3 separate regions of the Homo sapiens genome follow, and regions 2 and 3 are each linked to region 1. Evidence: promoter capture Hi-C in 16 types of primary human blood cells and fetal thymus (Javierre and others, 2016). All regions are on one chromosome and are shown on one strand. Each heading gives the region's core, a stretch centred on a gene start or on the middle of the fragment in contact. The rest is flanking DNA. Distances are from core to core; before and after follow the strand shown.

Evidence for each region. The method cuts DNA at HindIII sites, captures the fragments that hold promoters and counts their contacts. A CHiCAGO score of 5 or more calls a contact.
Region 2: a contact is called between a fragment that was not itself captured here and the fragment with the promoter of SMYD2 in region 1, in 4 of 17 cell types (naive CD8 T cells, M2 macrophages, activated CD4 T cells and 1 more). The highest score is 7.3, in naive CD8 T cells.
Region 3: a contact is called between a fragment that was not itself captured here and the fragment with the promoter of SMYD2 in region 1, in 2 of 17 cell types (M0 macrophages and M2 macrophages). The highest score is 6.9, in M0 macrophages.

What each region holds. Positions count from the first base shown.
Region 1 is chr1:214,278,247-214,283,045 of GRCh38, forward strand. It overlaps SMYD2 (SET and MYND domain containing 2), which reads left to right and starts at 2,913. Exons shown (of 12, transcript NM_020197.3): 1 at 2,913-3,181. The coding sequence starts at 3,009. LOC124904509 (a long non-coding RNA gene) reads right to left here and starts at 2,790. Exons shown (of 2, transcript XR_007066876.1): 1 at 468-2,790. RefSeq lists an enhancer at 1,868-2,433 and silencers at 2,713-3,002, 3,023-3,142, 3,173-3,332. The HindIII fragment of the contact is 17,351 bases long and covers 1-4,799 here.
Region 2 is chr1:215,525,021-215,529,819 of GRCh38, forward strand. No RefSeq gene overlaps it. Among named protein-coding and RNA genes, the nearest start is that of KCTD3, 40 kb to the right of the region's middle. The HindIII fragment of the contact is 1,539 bases long and covers 1,961-3,499 here.
Region 3 is chr1:213,125,625-213,130,423 of GRCh38, forward strand. RPS6KC1 (ribosomal protein S6 kinase C1) reads left to right here. Exons shown (of 15, transcript NM_012424.6): 6 at 3,903-4,265. Among named protein-coding and RNA genes, the nearest start is that of RPS6KC1, 77 kb to the left of the region's middle. The HindIII fragment of the contact is 1,109 bases long and covers 1,280-2,388 here.

The sequences.
Region 1 (4,799 bases), core at 1,663-4,162:
AATCATTGAAACAGTAAACTGTCTACTGTATTGTAATTGTTTACTTCTACGTCAGTCTTTTCATCTTTTTGCTGGTTAGAGCCCCCAGAAATCAGAATGAGATTCCATGACGTTTATTCAACCTTTAAATATTTTTTCCATTCTCTCTGTGTTCCAGGAGTAGTGATAAGAGCTGGTGATGTAAGGGTAACAAAAACAGACTCATTCCCTGCCCTCATGGAGCTTGTACAGTCTGGTGGAGGATGTAAACACTAATCAGGTCATCACACAGACAAATGCAAACTGTCAGTGGTCTCACATGCCAAGGCTGTTTATATACATGTAAACAGTTATGAAGTGCTGAATGTTGGCACCCCAGCCAACCCACAATGCTGCTGGCAGATCAGTCTAAAACACTGGACTCAATGTGCCACCCCTCACTTAAACGCTTTAACTGGCTCTCCCATGGCCTCTGGGGCAGAACTCACCTCTGGAGAAGATGCTCTTCAGCTGTTCCTGCCTCATTTCCTGTCCTCTCTTCCAGATGCTCAGGGGCCCCCAACTACAAGCTCTGTGCTTTCAGGGTCTTCTGTCTTTGTACGCAGTTCTCTCTGCCCAGAAAACTCTTCTCCCCACCTCCACTTGCAAAATCCTGTCCATCCTTCAGGCTCAGCTCTAACGTTACTTGAATGTGATGCCTGTCTTGACTGTTTAGCAGGCTAAAGCTGTCACTCCCTGCCTGTACTACCACAGAACATTTTGTACAAGCCACCATAACTGCACTTATCCCAGTGAACTGTGTTTGTTTGCAGCAAAACACTGTGGTTAGGAACATGGACCTTGAATTCAGACTGACTTGGAAACCAAATTCTGCAATTTATTGTGTGGCCTTGAAAATCATTCCTTCTGGGTCTTAGTTTCCTTCCTAATTTTGGCAATGAGGGGCATAATACCTAACTCATTAGCCTGTTGTAAAGATAAACCAGATAATGTGTTTAATGATGGAGCACGATGCCTGGTCAACAATACTCAATAACTAATGGTATTATCAAACTTGAATGTGCCAAATGCAAGGACCTAGGACTACATTTTGTCCACTTTTTTTTTTTTTTTTTTTTTGAGACAGAGTTTCGCTCTTCTTGCGCAGGCTGGAGTGCAATGGTGCGATTTTGGCTCACAGCAACCTCCACCTCCCAGGTTCAAGCGATTCTCCTGCCTCAGCCTCCCGAGTAGCTGGGATTACAGGCATGCACCACCACACCTGGCTAATTTTGTATTTTTAGTAGAGATGAGGTTTCTCCATGTTGGTCAGGCTGGTCTTGAACTCTCGACCTCAGGTGATCCGCCTACCTCGGCCTCCCAAAGTGCTGGGATTACAGGCGTGAGCCACCACAGCCGGCTGATGTCCATCTTTCTATCCCAGTTGCTGGCCATAGTCAGTCGAAGTTTCTTAAAATGCATAAATGAAAATACTATCATAACTTCCTTTACTTGAAGACGGGTTAGAGGCTTATTTAGTTTGCCACTAATAAGGGCTTTTTTGTTTTCTTTTGAGACAAGGTCCTGCTCTGTCACCCAGGCTGGAGTATAATGGAGTCACCACAGCTCACTGCAACCTTGACTTCCCAGGCTCAAGCTATCCTCCCACCTCAGCACCACTTGAGAGGTGGTTAATTTCCCATAGAGACGGGGTCTTTATGTTGCCCAAGCTGGTCTCCAACTCTCCAATTCCTGGGCTCAAATGATCCTCCCACCTTGGCCTCCCACAGTGTTGGGATTACAGGGCTGAGCCACCACACCCAGCTGATAAAGACATTTTACTGAAATGCCAAAAATTCCACTGATTTTACATCTCCAATCATATTAATCCTTTCCCTTTGCTCAACCAGTCCTGAACTTACACAGGTAACTGTTTGAGGTCCTATTTTGAAGTAGTGGTTTCTGCTAAATGATCTCGTCACAATTTTAGTCTTTACTGCATGTACATCAATTCCAGTCTTTACATAATCATGTGGAACACGGATTATATTTTCCTTTCTCATATGAAAAGTAATAGCGTGCATGTGTATAGGATTTACGTTTCAGGCTTTGTGGGCTTTAAATCCTTTGACTCCTAACCCAAGTGACTTTTCTAAGATCACAGTTCGTGGGTGGTCAAGCATATTAAAACTACTGCAAACTCTAGCGCAGTGTCCTGGACACTGGCCACAGCATCGCATTATCCCCCAACAGCCTAAATTCCTTGAAGGCAAGGTTCTCTCTGGCTTCCTCTGCAACGTTCGCAGCATGCCTCAGAGACTCGGTGAGCTGGGCCGGCCAATGCATTTCCTCTTCCGTCCATGTAATTCCACTAGAGGAGCAGAGGGCAAACTACGTTCCCATTAAAGCCACAAGGTTTAAAAACCTCTAACCTTGGAAAAGCACACTTCAACCCTCTGCACACCAAACTTCTCTACTGTGGTTTCCCCTCTGCCGCTTTCTCCTTGGCGTTCCCCGATCACTGCCTCTAGGGTCTTTACAAGGGACAGCGAACGTAAGGTTTCGGAGCTGGCTTCGCCCCCTTCTATTTACCGGGGGCTGGTCATCCTTCGGGCCAGGCTGACTGTCTAGGGGTGGCCCTCGGATACCTGGTCCCCGCAGGTGACCCCCCTCCCTCCCACCGAGGAGGAGGGCGCGTCCCGCTCGCTCCGTGGAGACGCCGCGGAGGCGCACACGCCTCACGCCTCCTCGCAGAAGCCACAGGGGCTGCGGCTCTTTGTCGCGGCCACACCGGAAACGGCCCGGAGCGCGCGCGGGGCGGCCGCCGAGGGTCGCGGCGCTAGGCGGGGCCGCCGGGCCCGTCCCCCTCCCCGCGGGGGCGCGCGAGGCCCGGGCGGGGCCGCCCTCCCTTCCGGGGAGCGGGGAGCCGCCGCCGCGTCCGCCGGGCGGCTCCCACCCCGCCCCCCGCAGCTCTAGGTGACGCGTCTCCAATAACAGCTCGCCGGGAGCCGCAGCTCGGGCACAGCCGGCGGCCGCGCCCCGCCGCCACCATGAGGGCCGAGGGCCTCGGCGGCCTGGAGCGCTTCTGCAGCCCGGGCAAAGGCCGGGGGCTGCGGGCTCTGCAGCCCTTCCAGGTGGGGGACTTGCTGTTCTCCTGCCCGGCCTATGCCTACGTGCTCACGGTCAACGAGCGGGGCAACCACTGCGAGTACTGCTTCACCAGGTAGGGCGGCGGCGGCGGCGGCGGCGGGCGGGAGCCGGGGGCGCCGAGCGGGAGGCTTGGACGGCGGCGCCAGGAAGTGCGTGCGGCTCGCGGGGTCCTAGCGCCGGCCCTTGGGGCGGGGTGGGGGGCGGGGAGGGGAGGAGGCCCCGCGCTGCGGCCCCGCGCTGCAGCCCCACGCCAGGCGCCACGTGCGAGAGGAAACAGGACCGGTGCCCCGCTGCACGCCCTGCACTGCACGTTTTCAGAGTTGCTCACGCTGGATGCGCAAACCCGGGCGTGCAGGTTCCTGCCCTCAAATGTGGGCTCCGAGCCAGGCTTGTTCCAAGCCTGGGCACTCACTGCCCTCCCGGTGCATTGGCAGCGGAGCCCCAAATTTGGGCAGCCACGGGCTGTCACCTTTAACTTATGCTTCCTGCGGTGTGTTCTGTTACCCACAGTCCAGCCCTGCCTCAGATTGGCCGTTTCTTCCAAGGAATTTAATGACTTAGTATATGTCTTGTAAAGTACGCTTACATGTTAAAGTACGCTTACATGGGTGTTTGGAGGGACGCCAGTGGGCACTGACCACACCCCCTGGATTCTGAGGTGCTGCGACGATGAGTTGCAGTGTCCAGTTTCGGTTTGGGATTAGGAAAACATGGTCGCAGGAAGGGATTGGGCAAGATGTGTGGTTGCTAATGGTATTTAATTGTAAGATACCATATGTATATATGTGTCTGTGTTTGTATATATGATGCATATACATTTGCACACACCAACACATAATTATATCCTCAACTCTTATGAGAGTTTCAGAGCTTAAAGGCACATTAGAAATCACCAATTCAGTCTTGTCTTTCACTTAATGGATGAGAAAACTAAAGCCCAGAGAGAAAGTGGAGTTACCTTTATCCATTCACACCAGTAGTGAAGGGAGTGAAATCTGGCCTTATTCACTTCTGCCTATTTCTCACTGGTTAGGTGCTCAGTAAATTTACTAAGGCAGGAGGCATGGCATTGGGGTTAAGTTTATATCAGGCCTTCCAGTACTCTGAGTAGAGACCATGATTTGCTTTCTTTGAACCTCAGTTTCTTCATCTTTGAAATGGAGATTCCTGGGCTGGATTAAGCTGACCTGCGGTCCTGCAGGGACCTTTTGAGTACAGGTCTCAAGTCCAGCATACTCAATCTCTCAGACCTGTGTGCCTCATTCTACAATAAGACGTAGCAAAAGAAGGGACAAAGGCTAAATATTGTAGTAATCTTGCCCAGACTCCCTGCCAGAACTGTCTTCCGCTTGGGGGGACCTGGAAAGGAACTAGACACGGAATCATGCCGTGGGCAGCTTAAGGGCTGTATGTGATGTGGCTCTTTGAATTGGTGAGCCAAGAGCTAAAGGGTCATGGCACCACTTTGCAACGTTTGAGTGAAGTGAGCATTGGGTTTTCCCAAAGTTAAAAAGGCTGCTGTGACTGGTCCCTTGATCTTCTGAGCCTTGCTGTGGCTCGGAGTCTGCAGCAGCGTGGGTGTCTGCAGTGGCAGGAGCAAAGCAGGTCAGGCAGCACAGAAGGAGCCTCCATCAGGGATCCTGGCAATTCCTGGAAGCCATCGCCTAAGACCATGGATGCCAGGCACATAG
Region 2 (4,799 bases), core at 1,480-3,979, 1.2 Mb after region 1:
TCTTTATGCTAGAATGATTTATATTCCTTTGAATATATATTCAATAATGGAATTGTGGTTCAAATGGTAGCTCTGTTTCAAGTTCTTTGGGAAATCCCCATACTGCGTTCCACGTGGCTGAACTAATTTACATTCCCAAAAAGGTAGCTTTTAAATACAATTTTATAGTAATTACTGATATTAGATAAATCTTAATAAAAACCTTCAAATGTTGTACACAAAGGAAATCAAGATAGCTCACAGGACTTAGCATTATAACAAGCTTAGATTAGTTAGCTTTTTAAAATTGGCTAGAAGAAAAGAAAACTACCTCTTGTGAAGTAGGTGAAAATTCTAACTTCATAAGATGTTCTTAAAAGCATCATCAAGGTCCTGGCGCAGTGGCTCATGCCTGTAATCCCAGCACTTTGGGAGGCCGAGGTAGGCAGATCACGAGGTCAGGAGATCGAGACCATCCTGGCTAACTCGGTGAAACCCCGTCTCTACTAAAAATACAAAAATTAGCCCGGAGTGGTGGCAGGTGCCTGTAGTCCCAGCTACTCAGGAGGCTGAGGCAGGAGAATTGCTTGAACCTGGGAAATGGAGGTTGCAGTGAGCCAAGATCGCACCATTGCACTCCAGCCTGGGCAACACAGCAAGAGCGAGACTCTGTCTCAAAAAAAAAAAAAAAGGATCATCAAGATGGTATATTTCATGCACTTTTCAGATGCTCTTCAATTTCCATAACTCACCATATTTGGTTTTGCTTACGTCATTAGTTTTTAACCATAAAATAAGTTCTAGAAAGTTCTTAAATAAGATTGTCTACATATTCTATATTACATTATTGTCATAAAATTAACATAATGACTTTAAACTTAAAAACGTTTTCCACATTCACAAAAACAATGTAATTAACTTAGGAAGTTTAAAACTTTGTCTTTAAGCATTGTTTTAACACTTGCATCTGGGTGGGTGCGGACAACATTGGAAAAGTGTGGAGAGGAAGAAGAAGACAGCTTTTTTTGATACATTTTGGACCAGTCAGACAATATCTTAGTCCAATGGGTAGCAGTGTTTATACATATTCAGGTAAGATTAAGGTTCATTCAGCAAACTGCTATTGGTTCCCTGTATGTAACAGGCACCTCTGCCAGGCTAAAGACCCCATTCCCTGTGCTCAGAAGTGCCCAGAGAGATTGGGAGACAGACACATGAATAAACTATTGGACAATGGGCTCGTGCTGTACTGGAGATGTGCACGCAGGGTGCAGAGATGTAGGGAAGAATCACAGAGGAGATGGTCTTCTCTGCCCTTAGGATAAAGGGGAAGTGGAAGACCTGACCAAGAAGGTAACACCTGGGAAACAGGATCTCAAGAAATTCCAAGCCCAAGGATAACAAGTAAAGGTGTGGTTGAAAACAATGTTAGAAACTGGGAGGTGATTCTGTCTAGTGTGTTTGGTAGGCCATTTCTAGGTCTCCATTATGTCTTTTCCATTACTCTGTTTTGTTATCGTGTATCTTTAAAGTGTTTTGCAGCAGAAAATAAAACAAGGAAAAGAATGGTTGAATCACTTTTTAAAAATCATGCATTACATTATTGTGATCCAGGGATATCCTATTATGTGTTTATTCCTAAGTGTAAGACGTGTCTTCAAGCTATTGCATTGGAGAGGTACCGTGTTTGCATTAGAAGACAAACGGCCTAAAAAAGGTGCACAATTTTTGGGAGAATGCTTCCATCTAGTGGTCAAATTGAGAAATTCACTTACATGTATTCGTTATATTTCTTAAAAATATTTGTTAATCTGTTATATACCAAATCAATATGTTTCTGTTCATTAATAGTTAATAATTTCTCATTTACTTTTAACTATTGGAGGATATAACAATTTAATTTTATTTGGCCTGTTGGTTCTCAAGGAGGTAGTGTCTCCAAAGAAAAATAAGATCCTCAAAAGAAGGCCATATTTGTTAAAGCTTTCATACACCTTGTCTCATTCAATATTCAGAGCCACATTGTAAAAAAATAAAAACTTTTACTATTATTCCATTTTATACATAAAGAAATGGAAACATAACAGGGTCAGTAATTTCACCTAACACCACCATGCAAAGAATTAACTTGTCAGGATGACTTCAGTTCTGGTGTTCTTTTCTCTTGATGCATTAAAGATGATTATTTTATCATTAACTCTGTTGATAAAGTTACAAGTTCTTTATGTGATGTGAGTAACATCTGTTTTGTAAGTTTGGAATGTGAAATGCATAAGGTCTTCATAATGTAGATGAATTAGTCAGTACAGGCTACTTAATGATGGAGTAACAAACCCAACTCTTAAATCTCAGTAGTTTAACATGATGGAAGTGTATTTCGCACTTTGGTTCAGCAATAAACTCACATCTTCCATTGTCTAGCTGAAGGGAAATGTAAAATAAAAGGTAGCAAATTGAAGGTTTGGGGAGGATTATGCTCTGCTGCAGAGATGGATTCCATTTTTCTCAAATATTAAGTATATTAAAGTATATAAATATTTTTTCAAATATTAAGTATACAAAGTATAAATATTTTGGATTGTGTGGGTTAGAAAAACATTTATGTGCTTTTGCTTTTTTTTCCCTTTCAAACAGCTTCTCGCTCTGTTGCCCAGGCTGGAGGGCAGTGGCATAATCATAGCTCACTGTAACCTCAAACTCCTAGGCTCAAGCTAGCCTCCCGCCTCAGCCTCCCGAATAGCTGGGACTACTGCTACTACTGCACAATGACACTCAGCTAATTTTTAAATCTTTTTGTAGAGACAGAGGTCTCACTCTGTTGTGCAGGCTGGTCTTGAGCTCCTGGCCTCTGGAGATCCTCCTGCCTTGGCCTCCCAAAGTGCTGGGATTACAGGCATGAGCGCTGCATCTGGCCTGCTTTTGCTTTTATTTGTATTTTTTTTTCTCTGAGGGACCTCAAGATCACAGAATTGTATTAATCTTAATCCTTGGCTCATGGCACACTTATTGATGGTTTCTGCATATCTCTCCTCCATTAATTATGCATGTACGTATGTGTGTATTTTAATAATGTAACAAGCACCTGTGGACCTAACAGCCAATATGGAAGCTGAAACTTTGGCAATCAGTCACATCTAGCTGTGTGGTCCCCATCCCTTCTATCTGCTACCCCTTTCCCAAGGTAACTACCATCCTAAATATGGTGTGCATTTTCCTTCTCTCTCTTTTTAACATGGTCTTATTCGATCTGTCTATCTGTTTTTTAAAGGCATATATTTTTATTTTAGTTATTTATCTCAATATTATGTTAGGATTCCTCTGTGTTGCTGCACATCATCACAGTTCATTCACTGAGTGTCGCATTATAGTATTTTGTGTGACTATAACAGATCATTCATCTACTGTCTTTGAGGATGTGAATTTGGGATTTTCTCCAATTTTTGCTGTTGTAAACAATGTCAGACAAGATCTCCATGTACCTTTGGGGATTCATCTCCTAATAATATTTTCTTTCTGGCCAAGCTTACATCCTCACCTGTCTCTTAAAAATGCCATTGTATTTCCTGATCCTGCACTTTGCTCCTATTTTGTCTGTCCCTCTACACTTCTTTCTGCACATGAATTCTACACATTATCCAAAGCCAGTATGAAATTTCACCCTTTCTATGAAATTTCCGATTACCACTATAATTTGTAGGATTGGTTTTTGCCTCTGAATGCTTGGGATAAAACATGTTTTATCCCAAACGCACTATTTGGTAAATATTATAACAATCATTCATTAACCACCTATAACATGCCAGACATGAATCCAAGAACTAGCCCTAGATCGTTTTATTTCTTTCTCAATACAACAGTATAATGTGGGGATTATCATTATTACTATTTTTCAGTCCAGTAATTACACATTAATCATTCTAAGGGTCTGATTGCTGAAAGGACTCAAGGCTCCGTTTATCATCACCAGGCAAGAGATACCTATGGCAATGGCAGGAGAAGGACATGCATTCAAAATGGTCCCAAAATGTTAGGCACAGGTTTCCTTGTCCTCTTTCCACTGGGTAGGGTCATACCAACTTCACTTAGTCTCTAGGTCTCAAACCACCATCAGCATCTGGAAGTCCAAAGTCCGTTCTTGGTAAGGAATCTCTCACCATAACCTGGTCACTAGGCACATCTCAGCTATGTGACCAGCCTTAACTGTTGAAACATCACCCCCTGCTCCCAACCTCTACTGAAACCAGATGCAAATCATAAATCCGGTTATTTCTAAACAATGATGACACACTGATACATCCTGCTCCAGAACAACTCACAGACCCATACAGAATAGCATTTGTCTTTAGTTAATAAGTACTATAGCATTAGCCAAGGGTCAGTAGCTCCCTGCATAAGAGCATGAACAATCCAGACCAGTTGAGATTAACCCCAACTGTGCACGCAGGTAAGGAAACCAAGGCTTAGAGAAGTGAAGTACTATCTTCCCCGAGGTCATCCCTCAAGAGTGATGGAGTTGTTCAGGGAAACTCCAGGGCCTGTGCCCTTTGGCAAGCTCTGAGCTATTCTGACTCTTAATGCAGTTAGTTGTGGCTTGCCCCATCCACAAGATAGCATGTATTATGAAGAAAAGTTGTTTGTCTGCATCTTTGTATTTCTCCCAGCATCTAGCATAGTCCTACATGTAAGTAATATGCACCAATAAACAGCTGGGCAGAATGACTAGCACACTTTCTCCTAGCTAGTGGGTAAGTTATCTCATGGCTCCCAGATGAGCAAAGCTCTGTTTTATCTCTGTACCTCTGTTCATGCGATTACTCTGA
Region 3 (4,799 bases), core at 584-3,083, 1.2 Mb before region 1:
CTTGTGTGTGTGTGTGTGTGTGTGTGTGTGTGTGTGTTTGCTTGCTTTTAAAGATGCCGAATTAAGAAATTATTTAGAATTTGAAAAGGAATGCTTTGTATAGAATGTTTATTTACTTAATCTTACTATCTTTCTCTCTAGGTATTTTAATGGTCTTACTTTTTTGATCTAATCTCATTTAATCATGATTCTCATTGCTAATAAAATATGATTTGAAAGGTAAGAGGAAATATGACTATGGTACCAGTTTTTTGTGGTCAAAAGCCAAGAAACAGAGTATACATAACTTTGCCCGCTTGCCCTTTGGTGTTATTGTTATTGTTAAAAGGAAAAATGGGGCAAAACATGAAACAGAACAATGTGATAGATGGTGTGAAGGTTATAGTGACAAGATACCAGAGAACAGACAAAAGAGATCTCTAATACAGCATTTCCTTTCTTTTGTGATTAGCTATATAAACCAGAACTTTTTTCAACCTTATCTATTTGTTTATCAGTTTCAATGGGCTAGATTATATATTGGCATCATTTAAGGAAATAAGTTTACATTGAAATACATAAAATATTTAAAATGACAAGAAAAATCTCATAAAATTTATATATATTTCTTAGGATAGTAGATAAATAACTGTAGATTGCTATAAAAGATTCTTATTATGAAGTACTGTTACTGTCCGTATGGCTGAAATGTCAGAGGACTGAAAAGATTTTCACTAGGCTCAATGAATCTCATTTGAGATTGTCGGTTTAATGAAATCTGTTGCTTTTTGGGAATAGAATTTGTTCTTTTGGGGCATTCTAAGAAGTTGAAAAAAAGTTGAAAATGAGGATATATATTGACAGGGTGCCAAAGCAGCATCTAAAGCTGATTAGAAATTTGAGCTTAGTGGCCAGTAACATGTTTTTACCCTAACTTACTTTATTTGATATGAAGTAGGCAATTTGAATTTAAAATAGGGGTTGGCAAAACTATGTTCTATGGGCTGAATCTGGCCTGCCACCTGTTTTTGTATGGCCTGAAAACTAAGAATGGTTTTTGCATTTTTAAATAGTTAAAAAAATTAAAAGAATATGATTTTGTGGTTTTGTGATGGGAAAATTATAAGGAATTCACACTTCAATGTCTGTAAATAAAGTTTTACTGGAACACAGCCATGCTTATTCATTTATATATTGTCTATGGCTGCTTTTGCACTACAATGGCAGTGTTGAGTGGTGACAGAGACCACATATGGCCTGCAAAGCCTAAAATATTTACTTTCTGGCCCTTTATAGAAAAAGCTTGCTGATCCCTGATCTAGAATTGTATAGTCTAATCCACTTTTAATTTTGATTTAGTATATAATCCTGAGGATATCATTTTCTTTTTAATTTTTTTTTCCTGAGAAACTTGGCAGATAATGTTCAGTGGTGAATGCAGATCTCAGTTATTTCCAAACTAGTTTTTATATAACTCTGTTGTCAGTCTTATTTAATGGTATAGATCACTGGCTCTCAAATGTAATCTTCAGATCTCTGGGTGTTTCTGAGATATTTTCAGGGAGTTCATAAAGCAAAACTGTTTTGATAATAATGCCAGGACATTCTTTGTCTTTTCACCATATTGACATTTGCCCTGATGATGCAAAAGCCATGGTAGGTGAAACTGCTGTGCTTGGGCATGAATCAAGGCAGTGTCACCAAACCGTAACAGTACTCATTGCACATACTTATAAAACCAATGCTAATTTTTCCTAAGTAGTAGAAACTGTTACATTTTGTTAAATCTTAACCCTTGTCACTTGTCTTTTTAATATGCTGTGTGAAAAAATGAGAATTATACATAAAGCACTCTGCATACTGAACTACCATGGTCGTCTTGAGGAAAAGCACTTATGCAGTTGTTTGAGCCATTAGCTGAACTAGCTGCTTTTTTCATGGGACACCATTTTGCTTGAAAGAACAATTAACAAACTGTCATTATTCAGACTTGTGTATTTGGCACTTTTTTTCTTGAAAGGGAGTGAAGTAAGCTGACACTTCAAGGAAAACAACTGATATTATTTGTTGCCAATCATAAAATTGGAGTTTTCAATTCAAAATTAGGATTTTCAGATAACCTCTGTCTGCCACTTTGGGTTTGACAGTTTCCCAATACTTAGTTTTCTGATGAGATTGGTAGATAATGAAATGTTGACATATGATTTTTTGGGATAATGAAATGTGCTGTCAACATTTCGAAGATCTTTATAACTAAGGGAACCAGTATTTTCAGGATGACCAATGTGTGATGTTATAAATTCATGCACAGATAAAAGATCCATTCAGTGTGCAAGACAGACCAATGGATTTGAATGTAACAGAAACAGAAATTTCATTCATAGGATTTTATATTCCACATTACAACTAAGCTTTAAAAACCTATCACTTGTTGAGTTTTGGTGTAGTATCAAAGAACAATATTCATAATTATTTGAAAAGGCTAATACTTGTTTCTTTTTCAGTTACATTATCTATGTGACATTTCCTTCATATCTTTCATCCAAAACAACATATGACAACAGATTGTGAGCAGAATCAGATATGAGATTCTAGCTATCTGCTGTTAATCCAGACATTAACAAAAATGTAAAACAATGTAAAACAGTGCAAAAATGTAAAACAATGCCACTTCTTTCACTAACTTTTTTTGTTTTGGAAAATATAGTTATTTTTCATAAAAATTATGTTAACATGTAATGGGGCTTTAATGCTTTATTTTATACATTTCTAGACTTCTTTTGTAAATATCAATATTGGTATTTAATAAATATTCACAGATACAATTCACATGAACAAAAGCTTTTTAGAGTCCACAATCATTTTGAAGAATATAAAAGGCTGTCCTGGGAGCAGAAAGTCTGATATGTATTGTGGATCGTGCTCATTTACCATGATGTCAGTTATATGAACTAGGAGAAGGAATTTTCACTGCTAAATAATTCAGTAGCACCTATTACCTCTTTTTTGTCTGAAAACTAAGGTGGAAATATACCTTTCCAGAAGCTTGTAGAAGAGGCTGAGATGAAAATGTCTAAAAATTCAGTTTTTAAAAAATGCTAAATAGCATACATTTTCCAGTTACGGATGGTTACCTAAAAGCACACTTCTGAGGACGCATTGTGTAGTTGTTATATAGTTACAGGTTGAGTATCCCTAATCTGAAAATCTGAAATCTGAAACACTTCTGTCCCGAGCATTTCAGATGAAGGATATTCAACCTGTTTATGTAATTGTTATAAAAGTTATAATATAATGATAGTCTATTATGCTTTATATGCATTAACTCTATTCCTCATTTAAAGACTTGCATAATAAGTAATACTATTAAGTAACCTGCTGTTGGTCACACAGTAAGTTTTAAGAGCTGGCGCTGGGCTTGGTGGCTCATGCCATCTAAGCTACTCGGGAGGCTGAAGTGGGAGGATTGCTTGAGCCCACGAGTTGGAGTGCAGCTGGGCAACATGGCAAGATGCTGTTCTCAAAAACAAAAACAAAACAAAAAAAAGAGAGCTGAGATTCAAGTGCTTTTTCCTTTATTAAAATGCTATTATTTATAGCAACTATGTGTACAGGCAACAGCTTTCTGTAAATAGCTTACAGGATCTTGTGGTAAAGGCTCTTTTTGGCAACCAAACTAGATAAAGATTTGTCTTCAATTTTAGTTTGATGATTAAGGCAAGAAGTTGTCTTCCAGAGTTACAGAGAGACAGTAAAATGAATGGACTAAGCCTAAACAAATTGCTAGACACTGACTTCCATCAGTAAATTACAGCCTTCCAAATTGACTTGGATAATATGAAAAATGAATAATTAGCATGATTTGTATTCGTTTGGCTGATTCTCAATTTAATATCTGTTTACTATTGTGATCATATTTCTAGGCTTCTCCAGTGACAGTGATCTGGTATCTCTTACTGTTGATGTGGATTCTCTTGCTGAGTTAGATGATGGAATGGCTTCCAATCAAAATTCTCCCATTAGAACTTTTGGTCTCAATCTTTCTTCGGATTCTTCAGCACTAGGGGCTGTTGCTTCTGACAGTGAACAGAGCAAAACAGAAGAAGAACGGGAAAGTCGTAGCCTCTTTCCTGGCAGTTTAAAGCCGAAGCTTGGCAAGAGAGATTATTTGGAGAAAGCAGGAGAATTAATAAAGCTGGCTTTAAAAAAGGAAGAAGAAGACGACTATGAAGCTGCTTCTGATTTTTATAGGAAGGGAGTTGATTTACTCCTAGAAGGTGTTCAAGGTATGGTTTTATGTATATTATGTTTTGGCATGCTCTTTTGTTGGTATGTGGGAAAAAAAAGTACATACATATATCTTCTGTATAGTCTTATGGAAATAATACTGAAAATGAGAAATTACTGAAGCTTAAAAGACCTATATATGGATATATACTTTAAGTTCCTTGAGATGTTAGACATTATCGGAGGTACTTAACCCTCTACTTTTAATCAATTAATCCACAAAAACAGGATTTAAAAAAAAGTCAGCATGTCTTGAAGTCTCTTGTATGAATAATAATCTTTCTTTTCTGATTTGAAAAGGCAGTGTTTTACCGGCCTTCATCTCTCTCAGGAGTAATTCACAGAGATTCTTGATGACCTGAAGAGACAAAATGAAATGGATTTTTAAACTAAGAGCATAAAAGATTCTTGGGTTTGCCGACTATTCTGTTCTTTGTAGTTGTAGTAAATTCTCATTTAATTAATGGAGGTGATGTGGGACATGTAGAGCTGACTGTAACTGAATGTCTGTATATAGAACTTACTTTTTTGAA